2 separate regions of the Homo sapiens genome follow, and region 2 is linked to region 1. The links are contacts of gene promoters, found by promoter capture Hi-C in human tissues and cell types (Jung and others, 2019). All regions are on one chromosome and are shown on one strand. Each heading gives the region's core, a stretch centred on a gene start or on the middle of the fragment in contact. The rest is flanking DNA. Distances are from core to core; before and after follow the strand shown.

What was found. The method cuts DNA at HindIII sites, captures the fragments that hold promoters and counts their contacts. A contact is called where the count stands out against the background at its distance.
Region 2: a fragment that was not itself captured here is called in contact with the fragment with the promoter of LRIT3 in region 1 in 1 of the 25 tissues and cell types used here (spleen).

What each region holds. Positions count from the first base shown.
Region 1 is chr4:109,846,790-109,849,604 of GRCh38, forward strand. LRIT3 (leucine rich repeat, Ig-like and transmembrane domains 3) reads left to right here and starts at 1,318. Exons shown (of 4, transcript NM_198506.5): 1 at 1,318-1,528. The coding sequence starts at 1,413. The HindIII fragment of the contact is 6,154 bases long and covers 1-2,028 here.
Region 2 is chr4:108,684,745-108,687,510 of GRCh38, forward strand. No RefSeq gene overlaps it. Among named protein-coding and RNA genes, the nearest start is that of OSTC, 36 kb to the left of the region's middle. The HindIII fragment of the contact is 4,266 bases long and covers 1-2,766 here.

The sequences.
Region 1 (2,815 bases), core at 68-2,567:
GAGGACAATACACTGTTTCTCACTTCCCTCCCTTTGTTCCCACTATTCCCTTTGCTTGCAATGCAACTTTCTGGATTTTCCCATAATACATCGTCATGCACCCTGTAAAAGGCAGCCAGGCACCACCCACCCTAGGAAGTCTTGCTTGACTAACACAGGCTGGGTTTGATGCTCTTTTCTCGTGCTTCTTTAGTAGTCTGTTCCTCCCTTTATCGTGTGAGTTCCTTATGTGTAATAACTGTCTTATTTATCTTTGTACCCCTCAATGCTCAGCAGAGAATAAGTACTCAGTAAATATTTGATGAACAAACGAGTTGTGCAGAATCTGAAAACCTGCAGTATTTTATTTTAATTGAGCACAGTTTTTCAGACTGTATGGTTTTTATATACATTCTATTGGTTTTAAATAACATTTTCTATAATATGCTTATTTTTATAGAATTAATTTTCTTTTAAAAAGGTTTTTAGTTAAAGAGGATGGTTAGAAGCAGCCACTAAGAAGGTTAAATGACGTATATTTATTACTTAAATCCTTGATTGTCCCTGTGGATTCTCCACTCTATGAGTGTGGAGATACTTTTAAATTTAATTACATTTAATTTTTATTTTCTGACAGAGCCTAATATAGCTGAAAGAATTAGAGTTGATCTTCAAATATGGCTTTGATGCTGATAACTTGGGAAACTATTGAACAGAGATAGTTGCCTGCATTAAAAATAAATGTGCTGGGATAAACCTTCCACACACTGAGATGACCTGGAAGAGTCTCAGAACACGTTCTTATTGGAGAACTTAGTCCTGCCACATCAGTAGTGGATTGAAGCATTTTCCCTATAAAATCTGTGTAACTGACTTGTTTTACTTTACTTTTAGAGATAGCCAGTATGTGGCAACATCGATAACTCTTTTCTAAATCATTTTTATGTCATGTGCTTCTATTTTTAAAACTAAATTTTGTAAAACTGAATTAGTAACACATTCTGGCAAAAACCAAATGCAAAACATTTTATAATGTTGTAACATGTAAATAATCTACAGAATTTTCTTGCATCTGCCAAGACTGAATTATTTTACATTAAGTATATTTTTAAGGTGTAGTGGCAAGTACATCCAGAAGAAAGGGATTTAATAGGCATTTTCTTGCAAATCTAGTTACGGGTAACTATTGAAATTGCTTGTCATGTGTTTGATTTTCATTTTCCTTAGAATGTGTTACTTTGCTGAAACTGTATTCAAAGGCTGGATCAATTGATCTCCTGCAAGATACACTTGAAGGTTAAGTAACTACAGATCTCAGCTAATCCCGTGTAATCTGCTGTTACTAAATGGCTGTTTGTATTCCAGGCATACCAGGTTCTGAATGCTTAGGATTCGGTTTTTACCTTTTGTTTAAATAACCTCTAAAAGGAGCAATGCATCTCTTTGCATGTCTGTGCATTGTCCTTAGCTTTTTGGAAGGAGTGGGCTGTTTGTGTCCTTCACAGTGCACCTGTGATTATCACGGCAGAAATGACGGCTCAGGATCAAGGTATGCTCCTCTGCTTGTTACTAAGTGTTCTCATTATTTTGACAAAAAGGACCCAAACAAGAAAGCCTACTTTTGAAAGCAAATGTTTGGGGATCAGAAATCACAGAAGAGAATGTTTAGTGTCCATAAGCTTTAACTTAATTGTTTTAACACTGGTCACCTACTCCTTCACTGTTTTCGTTTTGAGCAGTTTAACTCTCAAAGGCCTCTCAAGGTATTGGAAATTTCTAAACACATTCTATGTTCCAAAATTTTTATTATGCTCATGTTCACAAATTGTTGCTTGAGATCAAACGATTTAAAGGTGCATGGCCAGCTAAGCCCTTGATTATAGAAAGGCTAAGAGGGCAGGCTGAACAGGAGCTGCGTGACATGCTCAGATCCTTTGCTTTCATGGCTCTCCACTTCCTTTGAGAACTATTCATGCCAATTGAATGGCAGAAAGAAAGATCTCAAGAGTGAAGTTAGAGAGGTTAATAGTTAGAATTTTTCATTTTAAGCTGATGGAATTTACAAAATAAAGAAGATTGAAAAAGATACTGTCTGTTTCAGACACTGCAGGATCTCACAGAAGTTATTCAATCTCTAGGTTGCTTTAGCATCTACTTGTGTAGTGAGAAGAGTTATTTACTTATATTGTGCATGAGGCCTTTTAGATATGTTAAATGCAAAACAGAACTCTTGCTAGCTAAACACAGTAGAACTTGAATTTTTTTTTTGAGAGGTTATTTAATAACAAAATCAGGTTATTTGTGACTTGGTTGAAGTAAACGGTGTCTCAGATAAAATAATTTGTTAAAAGAGTTGCCCAATTTATGTCTTATAACTTTAAACAAATAAATAATAATAAATAAGACATATTTGTGAAAAGCTTATCTTGTTATTGTATAAACTTTAGTTAACCAATTCTTGGTATTTTTTGAGATATTCACTGGGTGGTTAAAGACAATGAAGAGAATGTAGCAAGTTAAAGACCTACTTGTCCAGGGACGTGTAGCAGTGAAGGATCAGGCCAGGGTACTTTTGAGAAACTATCACAGAAATGTTTCCTTCTTTGTGGTGACCCCATTATTGATGGATTTTATAAAAATTATAGAATATTAGGCCTGGCAAGAAATAATCTAGTTCAACCCCTTGTCAGTTTATAAGTGAAGAAACTAAACTGTATGGAGACCAAATGACTTGTCCTAGATCATATAATTGTGTTGATGTAGTAACTAAGTTCATAAAGATGCTAGATCTTTTAGCGTACAAACTAGACTTTCTTCTATGATAGCATGCTGAGAT
Region 2 (2,766 bases), core at 51-2,550, 1.2 Mb before region 1:
AGATCTATTTTTTCTTTTCTCTTCCCTTTTTTTTTTTTTTTTTTTTTTGAGATGGAGTCTCATTCATTGCCTAGGCTGAGTGCAGTGGCGCGATCTCGGCTCACTGCAACCTCTGCCTCCCTGGTTCAAGCAATTCTCTGCCTCAGCCTCCCGAGTAGCTGGGACTACAGGCGCCTGCCACCACACCTGGCTAATTTTTGTATTTTTAGTAGAGACATGGTTTCACCATGTTGGCCAGGCTGGTCTCGCACTACTGACCTCAGGTGATCCGCCTGCCTCAGCCTCCCAAAGTCCTGGGATTACAGGCGTGAGCCACCGTGCCTGGCCTACTTTTTCCTTTTCTACCCACCCCACCCCAACCAACCTGTCTCAGTGAAAACCTGGTTGTTACTAAAGTGAAACTTTAATAAGGATATTGCCTAGGGAAGATTAGTTGTTTTCCTTGTCATTCAAGTTCATTCTGGACCTCTTCCTCTGAGCTGTTAATCAGTGTTGCTAAACAGACAGGGAAAGACAAGGGAGAGAAAAATGCTGATTCATTCTTCAGAACTTTTAACCCTTTTAACCCCTAATTCTTCTCCTTGAGAAGCTATTCTTTGATTGTGAAAAGCTTTGTTGTTCAAGGAAATATGGGTAATAAAAATAGCTAACATTTATTAAGAGCATAACATTTATTAAGAGAATACTGTATGCCAGATATTGTTCCAAGCACTTTTCATATTAACTCACTGCATCCTCATAAAATGCTATGAGATAGTACAACTAAGGCCATTTCATAGATGAGAAAACTGAGGTTCAGAGAGATTAAGTCACTTGCCAAAGATTGCACAGGTCCTAGGTGGCAAGCCTGCAGTAGAGATCCATAGCCTCTGCTCCTAACCACAACGGGGTCTTCTAGGAACGTGTCCTTATTTGGCCTCAAAGGAATAATAATCTTTTAATATTTTTTAAAAAAGAGTTGACTAGATTGGAAAGTGCCTAAGTTCAGGGTCTGATTCTATTTCTTAGTTACTTTACAAAATTTTCTGCACCATACCTCTAGCTATATATTCATACCCACTTGTCGTAGCACTTAGAAGTTTTATCAGTTTAGTCTCACTTGCCTTTGCATCTGAGCAATATGCACAATGGTTAGTATCTATTATTATTATTATTATTATTATTAAGACAGAGTCTCACTCTGTCACCCAGGCTGGAGTACAGTGGTGCAATCCCTGCTCATTGCAACCTCCTCCTCCCAGGTTCAAGTGATTCTCATGCCTCAGCCTCCCGAGTAGCTGGGACTACAGGCACGCACCGCCATGCCCAGCTAATTTTTGTATTTTTAGTAGAGATGGGGTTTCACCACATTGGCCAGGCTGATCTGGAACTCCTGACCTCAAGTGATCGCCCACCTCAGCCTCCCAAAGTGCTGGGATTACAGGTGTGAGCCACCATGGCCAAAAAATATATAATATTATATATTACATATATCTTATATCTATCTTGACATATGTTTGGGGACTTATATAGAAATAACTTTTGGAGAATGCTTTAAAGTTTACAAAGGGTATGTTCATTGCTTTACCTATGACTAATTATAGATATTTAACATGGCCTCATTTATTTGAAATTTAGAAAAGTATTTTTTCATATAACTTCCCTTTGGAAGCATGTTAGTTTAATTCTACCCAAACTGTATGTGCAAGATTATATGTACATATGTTTCTTTTGATAATGCAGCTTTTATATTTCATTTTACTAAATTCAGGCATGAGAAGAGGATAAATCAAGGAAATTTACTCATATAGGTGGTTCATGGCTTCAGTAATGAGGTAAGCTATACTATAAACTTAGAAAAATGAGAAACGAGAACCCCTTTATGAAGCTGGTAAAATGTTCCTAAAATAGAGGTGATTCGCTATCTTGGATTATAAGCTGAGAAATCATAATAATGTGGAACTGAAAATTTGGGGAACACCCAACTCCAATCAAGGTGAGCTACGTTTGATCCCCGGGATCTGTTCACTTGTGCTGTGGTGGGTCTGCAGATAGACAGGAGATAGAAGCAGGAGGATCAGGCCAGACCATAAAAAGAAAATCCCCCAAACCAAGGTTTCTCCTGCACTGTCCAGATTAGAAGGAGCCTTTGCAAGATTATTTCAGTAAAGGAAAGAAGTGCCTCAAACTCTTCTTTAAGAGACGTTTTAGGTTCACTCATTTCCCACTGTTTTGGCTCTACTCACCAAAGCCACTTCCTGATTTGATTGGCTAAAGTTTTATTCCTCTGATTAAAATCTTTCAGATAAAATCTTCATGATAAAAGCCCAACTCCTAATAGTGGCCCCAAAGGCCCTGTACATCGCCTCTTCCCCCTCTCCATCCTTTGATCTCATCTCCTAGTCCTCCAGTTCATTCTGTCCATACTGCCTTCCTTACTGTTCCTCAAACACACCAATCACACCCTGCCTCATGGCCTTTCCTCTCCCTCTACCCAGATGGCTCATTCCCTCATTTCCTTCAAGTCTTTGTTCAAAGGTCATTTCTCAATGAAGCTTTCCTTCTCTGTTTAAAAATTACAGCTTCTACCTTTCTAATTTCTTTTCCATAGCACTCAGTGCTGTTTATCATACTATATAATTGCCTTGTTCATTTTATTTATCTAGATTAGAATATAAGCTACATGAAGGCAAGACATAGATCAGTGCCTGGACATAATACATGCTCAATAAATATTCAATGAATTGCTCAATGTAACCCTTCAGGAAAATATAAGAATTGGCTGAT